Regions from separate parts of the Homo sapiens genome. Here regions 2 and 3 are each linked to region 1. Evidence: promoter capture Hi-C in 16 types of primary human blood cells and fetal thymus (Javierre and others, 2016). All regions are on one chromosome and are shown on one strand. The core of a region is centred on a gene start or on the middle of the fragment in contact, and the rest is flanking DNA. Distances in the headings are between cores, read along the strand shown. Region 1 holds the start of NLRX1 (NLR family member X1). Region 2 overlaps USP2 (ubiquitin specific peptidase 2). Region 3 overlaps MCAM (melanoma cell adhesion molecule).

What was found. The method cuts DNA at HindIII sites, captures the fragments that hold promoters and counts their contacts. A CHiCAGO score of 5 or more calls a contact.
Region 2: a fragment that was not itself captured here is called in contact with the fragment with the promoter of NLRX1 in region 1 in 3 of 17 cell types (endothelial precursors, megakaryocytes and M2 macrophages); the score reaches 6.5 in endothelial precursors.
Region 3: a contact is called between a fragment that was not itself captured here and the fragment with the promoter of NLRX1 in region 1, in 1 of 17 cell types (fetal thymus). The highest score is 5.5, in fetal thymus.

What each region holds. Positions count from the first base shown.
Region 1 is chr11:119,165,534-119,170,583 of GRCh38, forward strand. NLRX1 (NLR family member X1) reads left to right here and starts at 3,192. Exons shown (of 10, transcript NM_001282144.2): 1 at 3,192-3,769. RefSeq lists a silencer at 3,101-3,710 and enhancers at 3,282-3,987, 3,988-4,692. The HindIII fragment of the contact is 14,996 bases long and covers 1-5,050 here.
Region 2 is chr11:119,373,331-119,378,380 of GRCh38, forward strand. USP2 (ubiquitin specific peptidase 2) reads right to left here. Exons shown (of 13, transcript NM_004205.5): 2 at 1-191. The coding sequence starts at 150. Among named protein-coding and RNA genes, the nearest start is that of USP2, 5.8 kb to the right of the region's middle. RefSeq lists enhancers at 1-130, 2,997-3,575, 3,892-4,480. The HindIII fragment of the contact is 2,877 bases long and covers 888-3,764 here.
Region 3 is chr11:119,310,080-119,314,764 of GRCh38, forward strand. It overlaps MCAM (melanoma cell adhesion molecule), which reads right to left. Exons shown (of 16, transcript NM_006500.3): 4 at 4,600-4,670; 5 at 4,410-4,497; 6 at 2,691-2,870; 7 at 2,448-2,569; 8 at 2,187-2,349; 9 at 1,973-2,091; 10 at 1,729-1,870; 11 at 1,451-1,572; 12 at 1,201-1,342; 13 at 1,011-1,106; 14 at 677-824; 15 at 270-387. It overlaps MIR6756 (microRNA 6756), which reads right to left and starts at 2,933; the gene lies at 2,871-2,933. The HindIII fragment of the contact is 5,572 bases long and covers 1-4,036 here.

The DNA of each region.
Region 1 (5,050 bases), core at 1,942-4,441:
GCTCACTGCAACCTTCGCCTCTGGGGCTCAAGCAATTCTCCTGCCTCAGCCTCCCAAGTAGCTGGGACTAGAGGCGTGCGCCACCACACCTGGTTAATTTTTTTTGTATTTTTAGTAGAGGCGGGGTTTCACCATGTAGCCCTGATGATCTCGAACTCCTGAGCTCAGGCAATCCACCCACACTGGCCTCCCAAAGTGCTGGGATTACAGGCGTGAGCCACCACGCCCATCTGATATCATCTTCTTTAACACAGTCACCTTCTCTGTGTCCAGACCTATGCAAAGTGCTGAAGACCAGAGTTGACTAAGACAGTTGTCCATGCAATAATTCTTTTTTTTTGAGACAGGGTCTCGCTCTGTCACCCATGCTAGAGTACAGGGTGCAACCATGGCTTACTGCAGCCTCAACTTCCTGGGCTCAAGCGATCCTCCCATCTCAGACTCTAGAGTAGCTGGGACCGCAGGTGCGTGCCACCATGCCTAGCTAATTTTTTAAAAATTATTTTTGTGGAGTCAGGGTTCTATTATGTTGCCCAAGCTGGTCTCAAACTCCTGGGCTCGAGTGATCCTTCTGCCTTAGCCTCCCAAAGTGCTGGGATTACAGGTGTGAGCAACCACACCCCGGCCTCATGCTATAACTTTTTTTTTTTTTTTTAGACAGAGTCTCACTCTGTAGCCAAGGCTGGAGTGTGTAGTGGCATGATCGCGGCTCACTGCAACCTCTGCCTCCTGGGTTCAAGCGATTCTCCTGCCTCAGCCTCCTGAGTAGCTGGGACTACAGGTGCCTGCCACCAAGCCTGGCTAATTTTTTTGTATTTCTAGTAGAGACGGGGTTTCACCACGTTGGTCAGGCTGGTCTCGAACTACTGACCTCAGGTGATCCACCCACCTCGGCCTCCCAAAGTGCTGGGATTATAGGGTGAGCCACTGCACCGCATCCTAGGTCAGACAACAGAGGACATGCCCACGGCATGACTCACAGTACTTCTGTCTGCAAGAGGCCAGTCAAAGTATATGTTATTAATAAAACCTACATGGTTGTCGTACCCATGGGGAAGGTGACAGGGGAGGAAAACAGATTGCTCTGAGCTGTGTCCAGGAACTGCTGCCAGGTGACTGTCTTGCATGGCTAGGTAAGTGGAATGAAGCTAGAGGAGATTACCAGGCCCAAACTGTCACCCATGAGACTACATTCATGGGGTTCCTATACTTCCCCTCCCACATCCTATTCTACTCCCCTTGAAGAACCTCTTTTAAAATGCAAATGTGTTGTTCACCCTGCTGCTGGGATGCCCTGCCTTTCCTTTCTCTGATTTATTTATTTATTGAGACAGGGTCTCTCTCTGTTGCCCAGGTTGGAGTGCAGTGGTGCAATCTTGGCTCACTGCAACCTCCGCCTCCCAGGTTCAAGCAATTCTCCTGCTTCAGTCTCCTGAGTAGCTGTGATTATGGGCATGTGCCACCATGCCCAGCTAATTTTTTGTGCTTTTGTTTTTATTTTTGAGACACGGTTTTGCTTTATCTCCCAGGCTAGAGTGCAGTGGCATGATCTCGGCTCACTGCAACCTCTACCTCCCAAGTTCAAGCAATTCTTGTGCCTCAGCCTTCTGAGTAGCTGGTACTACAGGCCCATGCCACCACGTCTGGTTGATTTTTTTTTTTTTTTTGATACAGAGTCTTGCTCTGTCTCCCAGGCTGGAATGCAGTGGCGTGATCTTGGCTCACGGCAACCTCCGCCTCCTGGATTCAAGCGATTCTCCTGCCTAAGCCTCCTGTGTAGCTGGGACTGCAGGCATGCACCACCCAGCCCGGCTAATTTTTGTATTTTTAGTAGAGATGAGGTTTCACCACGTTGCCTAGGTTGGTCGTGAACTTCTGAGCTCAGGCAATCCGCCTGCCTTGGCCTCCCAAAGTGCTAGGATTACAGGCATGAGCCACCATGCCTGGCCAATTTTTGTTATTTTTAGTAGAGACGGGGGTTTCACCATGTTGGCCATGGTGACGAGTTTGAGCTGGTCCCAAACTCCTGGCCTCAGGAGATCTGCCCTCACCCCCAGCCTTCCAAAGTGCTGAGATTACAGGTGTGAGCCACCGCGGCTGGTCCTCTGATTTATTTTTTCAGATCCAGTACAAATGTTACCTCCTCTGCACTCCCTTTTCCAGACTCTCCTAATGCCTTGCCTCTGCCACTGAAGTACATCATTTGTTTGTCTGTTTTTTATATTTTTATTTTCTATTTTCATTTTAAATAGAGACAGGGTCTCACTATGTCACCCAGGCTGGTCTCAAACTCCTGGTCTCAAGTGATCCTCCTGCCTCGGCCTTGAAGTACATCATTTGTAAATGTGGTAGTTGATTCCATTAAAGTGAGGTGCCTGCCTTGCTGTGGTTGGCAGCCCAGGGCCTAGTGCTGGACCTGGCTTGTGGGGGTGAGGTGCTCAGTGCTACCCAATACCACAGTACAACGAATGAACAAATGTCTAAATGAAACATCCACATTGTTTTCAGTAAGTCCTCTTCCCAGCCCTGCCCTGGAGAGCCTCTCTGTGGGTGCCCTAGTGCACAGCTCTGTTGTGTGAACATCGTACACTCATGCTTGCATACGAAGGCGTGCCCTGGCTGTGGGTGGTGGGTGGCTCCTCCTTCTGGGCTACGTGAGCCCAGGGTGTGGAAGTGTGTGGAAGTGTAGGGATAAGGGTGGGGGCTTTGGGAACTGGGAAGCCCCAGGGCTAGGCCATGAATGGGTGTCAGACCCGAAGAGCAGGTTGGGGTGCAAGTTGTCCTTCAGCCCCCATTCTTCCTTCTTTCTTAACCAAGGTTACCAGCAGCCACACACATAGGTCTGGGCTCTGAAGAGGACCGGATACATAAGGCAGAACCCAAGGAAGCCTTAGGCTCAGGTCTCTGCCTGAAGGTAGGCTGGGGAGGCGGAGAGGGACAGAGGGAAGAATCCCCTGGACACCGCGCCTCAGGGAGGCCCAGGGGTAAGGTAGGAAGACTCAGGCCCGGGATGTTGTTCTGGCTCATCCACTTCCTAACTGAATCAACCTGCACAAGTCATTTCACCCTTCTGAGCATCAGTTTCTTCATCTGTAAAATGGGCCTAACAAGCAGCCCAGCCTGGGAGGTGGTTAGTGAGGTCACTGGGTGTCACTGGCGCTTGGGAACCTGCAGAGGGCAGTACTAGCGGCAGTGCCCGCGGGGATGGAGGCAGGGAGGGGGGACGATGGCGGGACGGGTGGCGCCGGGGTTCCAGCCCTGCGCCTGCTCCGGAGCACCGGGCCCCTCTCGCTGACCCCCTCGTCCCAGGACCCCGCAGGCCCGAGTGCCTGGGCTCGTCCTCTTTCGCGCCCGCTGCCAGGTGCCAGGGCCGCGCAGGCGGGCGGAGGTGGGCAGGAAGCGCCACGCCGAGGAGCCGGGGACTCTGGGAGCTAGCGGGAGACGCCGGCGTCCGCCCAGCCGACCCCTCTGGGCCGCGGCCGACGGCTCCCGGAACTGGGCAGCCGCGGGTAAAGGCCTAGCGGGCTTGATAACCCCTGCGCCCTGGCTGGGAGGCCGCGCTGAGCGGGGGGCAGGGCGGGCCGGGGGAGGAGGCTGTGCAAGGGCCGCGGGGAGATCCCGGCCGAGAACGAGAGGGACGGAGCTGGGCGCTGAATGGCGGGCGTTCTGGCAAGTCTCCCCCTGCGTTCCCGAGGCCACCCGAAAGTAGGAGAGCTGTTTGGGACCCAGTTTGGTGGAGGAGCTCTGGACCTGTAGGAACACCGCCCCTGTACGTTTCCTGCAGTGCCCCCTCCTTTTCTCATTGCCCTGGAGACCTGGGTGATCACCGGAGAACTGCCCTCGGCCCCGCAAGTCCCGTCTTGACTCAGTGGCCCTAGATCCGAGGTTAAACCGGAACCTAGGCTTTCTCAGGCTTCTGGAGCCCTCTCTTAACCCTTCCGCAGCCCCTGGGACGGGCCAGCACCCAGCCAGCTCCTCCGCTGGTTGGCCCTGCTAAGGCAGGTGGCCCAATGCAGCCAGTTCTCCTTAAGCGTACCCTGCCCAAGAAGCCCCGATCTCAGTGGAGGAGACCAGGTGCCAAATAGGGGCACATTCCATTTAAGTGAGTTCAGAGGCCTCAGAAAAGACTTCCCAGGGACGGAGACTTTTGAGCAGGATCTTAAAAGATTGGTTGGGGCCCGAGTGGTGGCTCGCGCCTGCAGTCCCCGCACTTTGGGAGGGCAAGGCGGGCGGATCACTTGAGCCCAGGAGTTCGAGACCACCCTGGGCAACAATGGTGAAAACCCCGTCTCTACAAAAACCAAAGCCAAAAATTAGCCAGGTGTGGTGGCACACCACTTTAGTCCTAGCTACTCAGGAGGCTGAAGCAGGAGGATGGCTTGAGCCCAGGAGGTAGAGGTTGCTGTGAGCTGAGATCGTACTACTGCACTCCAGCCTGGGCAACAGAGCGAGAGACCCTGTCTCAGGAAAAAAAAAAAAAAAAAAAAAAAAAAAAAAAAAATTGGTTGGGACTCTAACAGAGGAAAAAGGTCATTCCAAACTGGGAAGAGTGTATGAACAAATTTAGGACAGCAAGAGCAAGAATCCGGTGAGCCTGGGGTATAAGGCACAGGCTGGGACAAACTCAGAAAAATAGCTTGTGGGAGCCCAGTGTTTGGACTCTATAAGTAACCTTGGACTTTTCGGGAGGTGCTTGGTGCTTGGGGTGAGGGATTAGAATGGGATGAGACTGAAGGCAGAAAGGCTGGTGAGGAGATCGGGTCCAATAAATGCTGGTCGGGGCAGCAACTGGCTGGCAAAGCAGTGGGGAGGAATTGCTAGGACTCTTCACACTGCCTAAAGGAGCAAGGGAAGAAAGATTTGAAGAGAGAGGTCAGGTTTCTAATGTAAGGCGTGGGTGGGAAGATTTGCAGCAAGGTAAATGACAAGAGGAGGGGAATGATGAGTTCAGTTTTACATGGGAGAAGTTTGAAGCAGTGGCAGGTTGTCCATCTGGAGATGTCAAGTGAGAAGTTCATTCATTTATTTATTATTTATGTCAGCCTCAAAG
Region 2 (5,050 bases), core at 1,076-3,575, 210 kb after region 1:
ACCAAGTTTCTCCTTCTCCAGTAAGGAGGCAGCCAGATTGGCCCCATAGGAGGACGGGGTGTAGGCACCATAGCCCGACTTGGCATAGTGGGCATCTGTGTAGCGGGCCGATTCTGTGTAGCGCTTCAGGGTGGAGGAGAGCTGGGACATCCTTCAGGGTGGCACTCAGTGGGGACTGGGAGCCTCATGGGCTGAAAGACAAGGAGTGTAGTTGTCAGAGGGCCCTGCCAGGTGTCGGGCTCCCACAGACCTGCTCCCCATCCTCAGCTGGGCCAGAACCTCAGAGCTCCCAGTCCATTTCCACAAGAGGCAGGCTGGCTGCTGAGAAGCACACATGCACGCAGGTGTGCACAGGAGCTTGCTTGCACCTGTGTGTTCACACCTCGGTGAGAGTGCGAGGGATGAGGTGGCTTTTATATGCCACACAGGAAGTCAGCGCATCCTGGCCATTCAAAGACTCAAACACGCAAGCAGGGGCTATCTGACCTCCACAGCCCACCAAGCCGTGCAGTCTTCCAGGTCAAATCCCATTGCCTCAGCATCTGCAGAAACTCTTGAGCTGGGGGAATGCCACTGACCCCTGGGTTGAGAATGCTGGATATTTCAGGAGTTAAGACCACATCTGTCCCTTCTGACTTATGTGATGAGCAGGTGTCTTTTTGGAATCCTAGACTGTCTGTGCTGGAATGACCTGAAGATCATTTGGTCAGATCCCCTGTGAGGCCAAGGAGGCTCAGGGGAGGAAGTAATGGGGTGTGGGTGGGCAGGGGAGGCCGTGAGTGAGCATGCAACAATGAGGGGCCAGAACGTGGTCTCCAGACCCTTTCCCCAGACACCAGCACCTGCTGCATGGTCCCACAGTGAGGGACACTCACTTCACTGAGCTAAGCTTCTGTTCTAAGTGGAGTTAGGGCCCTGTGGCCTCCTAAGAGTTCCTCTACCAACACAGGCTTCCTCTACAAACACAGATCTCAAATTGGTCCTGGCGATGCTTGTGCAAAGGGGGCCCCCTACAGTCCCAAATCTTGCACTGCAGGTGGCATTCCCAGTCCTTCCCTGCTCCAGTCCTGCAGCTGGGGAGGGTCTAGTGAAGGAACACAGACACTGCTGAATGTGGAGCTTTGAGAGCCCCAGAGGATCATGAATTTTAATCTATCTGTTATACAGATGGGAAAAGTGATGCTTATTTGCCCCCGGCCACACACCAGCAGAGCCAGGACTGGAATCCAGGTCTTTAAAATCCTGGCCAGTGTTCTTTCTACTTAACCTGGAGTTACCTCCCCCGCATCAGATTTAGGGTCAGTTGGGGACCCCCAGAGGCCTTCCATCACCGTAAACGTGCAGCCTGTATCCAATGGAGCTGGAGTGGCAGAGGAGCAAGTAGGGTCAGACGCCTTTCCCCGAGGGCATCAGGGGCTCTTGGGGGGCTTTCTAGGGGGATGGAGCAGAGCCATCCAGGACTCTCAGAGTTGTGGGACTTGCCCTGTGATGGACTAGCTGGGTGATTTTGCACTAGTCACGTAACCTCTCTGAGCCCCAACTTCCTCATCTGTAAATGAGTAAAACCATCATCCTCATAATTCCTACCTCACAGGGCTGTTGTGAGGAATAAATGAGATAACAACACGTGAAGGGCTCCACAATGACAGTGGCTACCATCTCCTCCCCCAGCTACTGCGAGGCAGCATGGCTCCGCCCTCTGAAGGTCTGTGATAATATCAGGGCTGGCTGTCTCCCAGCCTGGCCAGCCTCTGGCCTCAGCTTGGGATGCCAGGCCTCCCCCTGCAGCCCCCAGCGAGAGAAACAGGCAGTGGGCAGACATCTGGCCACTCAGCAGACACTGGCTTGGCAACCCAGCCCATTAGGGCAGAGAGGAGCTGGTGCCAAACCCCAAATGCGAGGGCTTGGCAGAAAGCTCTAGAATCCCAGTCCACACAAGGCTTTGGGGTAGGTACAGGGGTGAGAGATGAGCAGGTGGCTTCCATATAGGCCCGGAACAGCATTCCTTGACCCTGCCTGAGAACTCCAGCAGTTTTCAGTCCAGGCTGACATCAGAAAGGCCTGGTCCATCTTACTGTCTAGCCTTTTGCCACCTGGCCCAGGGGGCCCCTGGCCCTTCATGTACACTCCTTTGCCCACTGTGCCCAGCACAACTTTCACCCCTTTCTAGGAAAAGGTAACTGGGGGATGATGTCACACAGCGTTAGAGGGAAACCATAGCGGGAGAGACAGACAGAGGCACAGGGTCGGGGTGGGGGCCCAGTCCTGCCCTATTTTGCTTTGGAGAACTCCATCAATAATGCAAAGTCAAAGAGACTCCAGGTCTCAGGAGCTGGGCTCTGGGACACCAGGCAGCCAATCAGATACAATCCCCCCAACAAGGGTATGAGCTCATGGCTCCTCCCCACAGCTCTCCCTCTCCCTCCCCCACAGTAAGGCTCTCAGGGAATTGGTATTCTTCGGGCAGCGCCCCAAGCCCGTGACATCCCTTGACCCTGCTGATGACGCAGAAGTGCTGGGGCCAAACGAGGTCCAGAGGACAGGGACAGACAGCTCTGAAAGGCTTTGGAGCCGGAGGTGGGGCCACATCTCTGGCCCACAGATTCCCAGGAGGGCTCCCAAATCCCCACTCTCCCTCCCATCTGGCAGGTGATTGCCAGACCCCTCCGCCTCCTCCTAGCAGCCCTGGGAGTCATGCCATCACTAATACTCCATGGAAGCTGCCTCTCGGCTCTGACTTCTAGCTACAGTTCCCATGCCTGCGGAGAGGGTTCCTACTGGGGCCGGGGCCTTCCACATGTCTCTCCCCTCCCGCAACCCCCAGTTTCACTCTCAAAGGTCCTAGCACCTTCCAGGTGAAAGCACAGCCTGGGTTGGTGCCCCTTGGCATTACCTGCACAGCTGTCCCTGGAGGCCACAGAATGCACTATGGGCAGGAGAGCGGGCTGGGGCCCTGGCCGGAGTCTCGCTGCGCAAGACAGGGACAGGACGGGCACTCACGTGGCTGCGAGTCTCCCTGTTGCCACAGGAACAGCCTGAACTGAATGGCCCTTTCATGGGGCAGTGGGAGGCAAGCCAATTGGCTGGGATCCCCCATACCCCTCCCTGCCCAGTGCGGGGGGCCCCTGCTGCCCAGCTCCTTTCACTGTTTACCCAGAGCTGGCAAGTACAGGCATGCAGCTCCAGGCAGCGCCTCTCCAGGTGTCCGCCACCTTGGACAATGGGGGCAGTCCCCTGCCCAGCTCCTCCTCCTGGCCATCTTCACTGAGGTGTCCTGACCCTTCCTTCTCTGTCAGAGATTCCTGTTGCTTTGCTCAGTTTCCCTCTCCTGGGAGGTGCAGCAGAGTTCCTCTGCACAGAGGCACTGGGCTTCCTGTCAGGGCATCTGAGCCAAGCAGCTGTCACCCCAGCTGGCTGGTGCTGATCACCTCTGAACCAGGCCCCAGGCATGTTGAGTACTTCACATGCAGCTTCTGAGTCCATCTTCTCTGCAGTCTCACATCAGCTCTCATCGGCCCTTGCCATGTGACGCATTCTTCTAGATGTGCTTCATACACAGAGCACCCCAAAAAGTCTTAGTGCAGGTTTAAGCTGGGATTCTTTCAGACATAAATGTCTCCAACTTACACACCTCTTTGGACAGATTAAATTATTTAAATTAAAATTTAAAAACATTTTCACAATTAAAAAATAAATATACAAGAAATTTAAATATGGAAACTTTCAAATGAAGTTTTTAGCATTCATATTTCTGAAGTTATTAAAGCTTAAAACTGCACTAAGGCTTGGGACACAGTGCATTAACTCACTGAATCCTCCCTGCTCCTTTAAGCGGTAGGTGCTGTTATCACGTCCATTTGCAGATGAGGAAGTTGGCGATGCTGGGAGTGATGTGGATTTCCCAAAGTCACACTGGGAGCAGTGGCAGAGCTGGGCTGGACTCGTGCTCTGTCTGCTATATCTGGCCTGAAGCCCAGACCCCTGCTTCACTCTTCCCTGGCTCTCCATGGGACGGGTCAGGACTGGGACCTGTGGGTGGGGTTTGAGGGAAGGACCACCACAGGATCCAGGTGTCCGTCATCCAGTAACAGCATGCGGTGTACAGACTCTGGCAGGAGCAGCCCTCTGGATTTTCCACTGCAGGTGAATGAAAGTGAAGCCAGGTGCAACTCGAGCCCCAGAACAATACTGATAGGCCGAGAGATGGTCCAGGAAGCCTCCATTTCACCCACTGTGCCAAGCCCCTGCATGTCCCCTGGCACCAGCATCTACCCCAGCTCGGGGCCTTGGGTCCCTGGCCTGGTTATGAGCAAGTCCCTAGCCTCCTACCCTGGCTGCAGCTTGGCCCACTCCTCAAGGTACCCATGCTGGGTGAGTCAGGGGTTAAAATGAACCCTGTCCCCGTGGGGCAGCCAACCCCTTTGCTTCAGCCACTGTCATTTCCTGTTGCTCACATGAAGGGCTCCCTAACCTGCCCAGCCAGGGGAGGGACTTGCTCCCCAGGAATTCCAGGCGCTCCTGGCCCTGGGGGCAGGGGATGGGTGATGCCCCACATCCCAGTAACCTTCATGGCTTCTCTCTGCCCAGATCTGCTTGGCTTTCTGGGGTGAAAGCCTGCTTTGCTACTGGGGCCTGGATAGAGAGCCTCTAGCTGAGTTTCAGAAGCACGCCTAAACAGGGTTAAGTCTCTTCCCTCCTACTCAGGTGCCCGGAAAAGGTGAGTGGGGAGTCCCAGCCAGTCCCGCCAGGTGGTTGGGAGCCCCCACAGTGGTGACCTCAGAGCTTCCTAAAGCCACTTGCTAACAGCATCAGAATGTGCTGACCTTGAAGGACAAGGTGGGTGAGAGGGGGCCCTGTATCCTTCCATCTGCACTCTGACCCTGCCTCCCAGCTGCTTGGGTCACCTGCTGCACTATCTGGGCACAAGTGTCTGGTCCTGGAGGATGGGATGAGGGAATCCTGGCAGGTGTAGAGGACATGGGTAGAGTAGGGGATGGGGGGGCGGGGGCATATTTATGCTCAAACAGTCCTTGAACTCCGCCTACTCCTC
Region 3 (4,685 bases), core at 1-2,500, 140 kb after region 1:
CCGTCTGACTGCACTGGTGAAATGGCCACACCCAGAGCCACGGGCATTGGTCAGGAAAAGGTGATGGGACAGGGTCTTTCTCAGTCTTCCTCCAAGCTCCCTCAGCCACTTGCTTGGCCCTGCCATCTGTGAGTAGTGTTAAGAAGGCAAGATGGGGCCTGCTCCCTATCTCTGACAAAGAGGGATGAAGGATAGAGAGAACCGTTAGTCCCTACTGCCCCCGGTCCCTGAGGATGTGGCAGGCTCTGGCCACAGGAACCGCCTCCTACCTGGTCTCCCGGAGCCCTCTTGTCACCGCTGCTGCCCTGCAGGAGGCCCATCTCTTCTGGGAGCTTATCTGACTTAACTTCAACTACAAGTTCGCTCTTACGAGACGGGGGTAGCGTGCTGGGAGGAGGGAGGGAGGTGAGAGGTTGGTATCTCAGGGCCACAGGAAGAGAAGGGCCCGCTGTGAAGGATGTGGAATGGATGAGGGCTCCTTGCTCCAGGGCCAGCCCAGGGCAGGGAAGCAGGTCATGAGACCATGTGGCTGATGGAAGCTGGGCAGTGGGTAGTGGAGCAGGCAGCACCCTGACCCAGGGCCCCACTCCTGCTGTCAAGGGGCAGGCGGGCGCTGGGCAGGCAGCAGGCTGGGTGGCAAAACGGGCGGGGGCGGAGGGGCCGGTGTTGGGCTTACATCTCCTGCTTCCCTGAGCGCCTGCACGGCAGCTTGCCCTTCTTATAGAGGAAATAGAGGACAGCGCCCAGCACCGCCAGGACCAGGATGCACACAATCACAGCCACGATGACCACGCCCCGGCTCTCCGGCTCCGGCAGCTTTCTCTCTGCGCCACAAAGACACTCCTCGTCACTCCCTGCCCCAGGCCACTTCGTCACCATCGTTGGCCCAGCCAGTCCAGGGCCGACAAGATGGGGCTGCTACTCACCTTTCTGGACAGGGCTCTCTGGGGAGGGACAGGGCAGAAAGGATGCCCTGGCACAGCCCTGTTCTCTTGCCAGGCCTGGCTTACCTGTGGAGGTGCTGTTGGCTCTGGTATGAGGACTGGCAGTGGAAGTGCTGAGGCCAGTGGTTGTGTTGGAGTCTGGTGTGAGGGTGGTTAAATTGACTAGGAGGCAGAGGGAGGGGTGTTAGGAGAAGCGCAAGTTACTGCCCGTGCCTGGGCCTGCCCCTGCCATCCCCTGCAGGGATGCAGCCCTCACCCAGCTCCAGGAAGAGGATGCTGGTGTTTTTGCCCAGGTCGTTGGAGGCCGTGCATTCAACACCTGTCTCCAACAGCTCCGGGGTCACGAGGACATTCAGGGTGCTCAGGACTCGCTGTGGATCTTGGTCTTGTTCACTTGCCTGCGAGGAAAGGAAGGAGGCAGCTCAGGGGATGGGGAGGATCTCTGGTCCTGGCCACAAAGCGCAGGCAGGGATTAGGAGAGTGTGGCAGATGAGACACCCGCTCACCGTGCCGTTGACGTTCCAGGAGATGGTGGGCCGGGGGTGCCCTGACGCTTCACAAGACAGATTCAACACCATATTCTCTTTCACCCACACCTTCCTCTCCTTGAATGCCATCCAAGGGGGGCCTTGGGGAGGTAGGGAGAGGTGAGGTGGCAAGCCCAGCTAGCCTGCCTCCCCCTCCGCACCAGAGCTCCCCAGGGCAGCAGGTGGCTTTTTGTCAAAGAGCTTAAAAACCACCCCACTTGGGGTGACCTGGTCTCTACCCAGAGGGAGGGCCTCACCAAAAATGGCCACGTTGACCAGCTGTGTGCGGTTCAGGCCGGGTATGCTGGGCACAGACGCCACGCAGCGATAGCCGCCTCCTGCCTCCCGTTTCAGGTCATGCAACTGAAGCACAGGCCCCCTTTCCAGCACCTGGCCTGTCTGGGATGAGAGATGGGTCAGAGGGTCTGGGAAAGAGCACATTCTTGTCACCGCCAGCCCCACCCACCCCATCAGCCCCTTGCCCCAGACCCGCCTGGGTACCTCTTCTCTCAGCCACTGGAACTCGAGGTCCTGGCTACTCTCTGCCTCACAGGTCAGGGTGAGGCTGCTGCCTTCCTGTCTCTCAGGGGCTGCGGGACTCACTCGGACGTCAGACACATCTGGGGGTACAGCAATCATGTCACCCAGGGCAGGGTGGGGCCAGTTCCCTATTGCCCCAGCCTGGTCCCCCTGTCCTGGGTCCCCAGCCCCTCACAGTTCACCAGTAGTTCCTGTGGTTCACTCAGCAGCGATATCATGGTGTCCAAGTCCAGGCCCTGACATTCATAGCGCCCACTGTGTTCCTTCCGGGCAGGCTCCAGCACCAGGACCCCGTTGTCGTTGGTTGTCTCTTCCTCTGCCTCCCTGGTGCTGGGGTTCTAGGGAGGATTGGGGAGGTGAGCAGAGTGCACCTCCCGCCACTCCACCTGGGTCTCTGCTTGCATCCCCACCTGCACCCAGCACAAAGCCCCCACACCTGCTTGCTGATGCTGAAGTGTGGTGGAGGGTTGCCATCAGCCAAACACCTGATTTCCACGCGGTCCCCTTCCTTCAGCATTCCCACGGGCTCCACTTCCAGCCACACTTTTTCTGTCGGGTCTGCATAGGCAAAGGGGGTAGCTCTTGGCCCATGAGTCAACCCTGGGCTGGATAAGGGGGAGCCAGCAGGAGTTTCCAGCAGCCCCAGCCCCAGTAAGCAGAGAGTCAGGTTAGTACTCACAGAAAACAGGGACGGTGACTTCCCTGGACTCCTTCATGTGGTTCCCACTGGGCAGCCGGTAGTTGAGCTCACAGTAAAACTGGGCATCTTTGTCTTCTTTAACCAGCTGTGCCTTCAGAATACTCTGCAAGGTGTACAAACCACTCGACTCCACAGTCTGGGACGACTGAATGTGGACCCCTGGGCAGGGAGGAAGGGGAGGAAGACTCAGCCTCAGCCCCACCTCCAGCCCCACCCTAGGGTTGTCCACTGGGGTTGGCAGGGGACCATCTAAATAGCCCCCTGTCCCCTGTAGAAGGCCAGGTACAAATGCAAGCTGGAAACCCTTCAACCCAGCACTTTTACTGCTCAGTGTCAACCCTAGAAAAACATTTTCATGTCTGCTCATATCCAAGGATGTGTGCAAAGAATGCTGCAATGATAAAAACGAGCAGCCGTCTAGATGTCCACTAAATGGGGAATGGTGAACTCGACTACCTGCTATGCGTAGTATGGAAAACTTGGCAGTAAGCAAAACGATCAGTTGATCTAAATAGACTGACCCAGAAACATTGTATAAAAGAAATTGTCTAACAATGTATACCATACACCACCACTTAGACCAGGGTTTCTCAGCACTACTGATAATTTTTTTTTTTTTTTTTTCAGACAGAGTTTCACTCTTGTTGCCCAGGCTGGAGTGCAGTGGTACAATCTCGGCTCACCGCAACCTCCACCTCCCTCCCGGCTTCAAGTGATTCTCCTGCCTCAGCCTCCTGAGTAGCTGGGATTACAGACATGCGCCACCACGCCCGGCTACTTTTGTATTTTCAGTAGAGATGGGGTTTCTCCGTGTTGGACAGGCTGGTCTTGAACTCCCGACCTCAGGTGATCCGCCCACCTTGGCCTCCAAAAGTGCTGGGATTACAGGCGTGAGCCCAGCCAGCACTACTGATGTTTTAGGCCACGTTGATTCTTTATTGTGGGGGCTGTCCTGTGCCCTATAGGATGTTAGCAACATCCTTGGTCTCTCTACCTACTAGATGGCAGTAGCACCCCCTCTATGTGTGACAACCAAAAATATCTCCAGACATTGCCAAGTATCTCCTAGGAGGAGGGGGTACAAAATCACCCCTGGTTAAGAATGACTGATTTAGATAATAAAACACAGAAGCCTATATCATTCTAGAAATATTTCTATATATGAGCAAATACATAGAAATAGGCTTGAAAGAACACACCCTGATAGCAGAGATTATTTCTGGGAGGGGGGGTCTCAGGCAAGAAGAAACTTCTAGATTTTTTGTCAGTTTAAATTCTCATGAAAATATTTTCAAGTACCATTTGTATAATTTTTTTAAGTTAAAAGCTTAATGAAAATATAAGGCAGTTCCTGTGTAGTACCATAGGGACAGCTCTTTTTAAGAGATGGGGTCTCGCTCTGTCACCCAGGCCGGAGTGTGGTGGTGCAATCCTAGCTCACTGCAGCCTTCATTTCCTGGGCTCATATGATCCTCCTGCCTCAGCCTCCCAAGTATCTGGGACCACAGGCACACACCACCATGCCTGGCTAATTTTTTTATTTTCTGTAGAGACAGGGTCACCCTATGTTGTCCAAGGTGGTCCTGAACTCCTCACCTCCAGAGATCCTCCTGCCTTGGCCTCCCAAAGCACCGAGATTACAGGTGTGAGCTACCACACCTGGCCCAAGGGTGGCTTTTGGGAGAAAGGGCTACTCACGGTTCTTCTCCTCCTTCAGAGGCCGGCCATTCTTGTACCAGATGACTTGAGGAATGGGGTACCCGTTCCTCCCTACACAGGTAGCGACCTAAAGAGCACAGGGTGTGAGTCTCCCTGCCTCCGAGCCCCCTTCAAGCCCCATCTCAGCGGCTGCGCACCAGCTGCCCAGCCCACCTGCCACACATCTCACCTCCTCAGGCTCCTTACTGTTCACAGGGATGCCCAGGGGGTTGACCTGGATGTTTGGCTCCTCCGGAGCTTCTACAAGAAAATAGA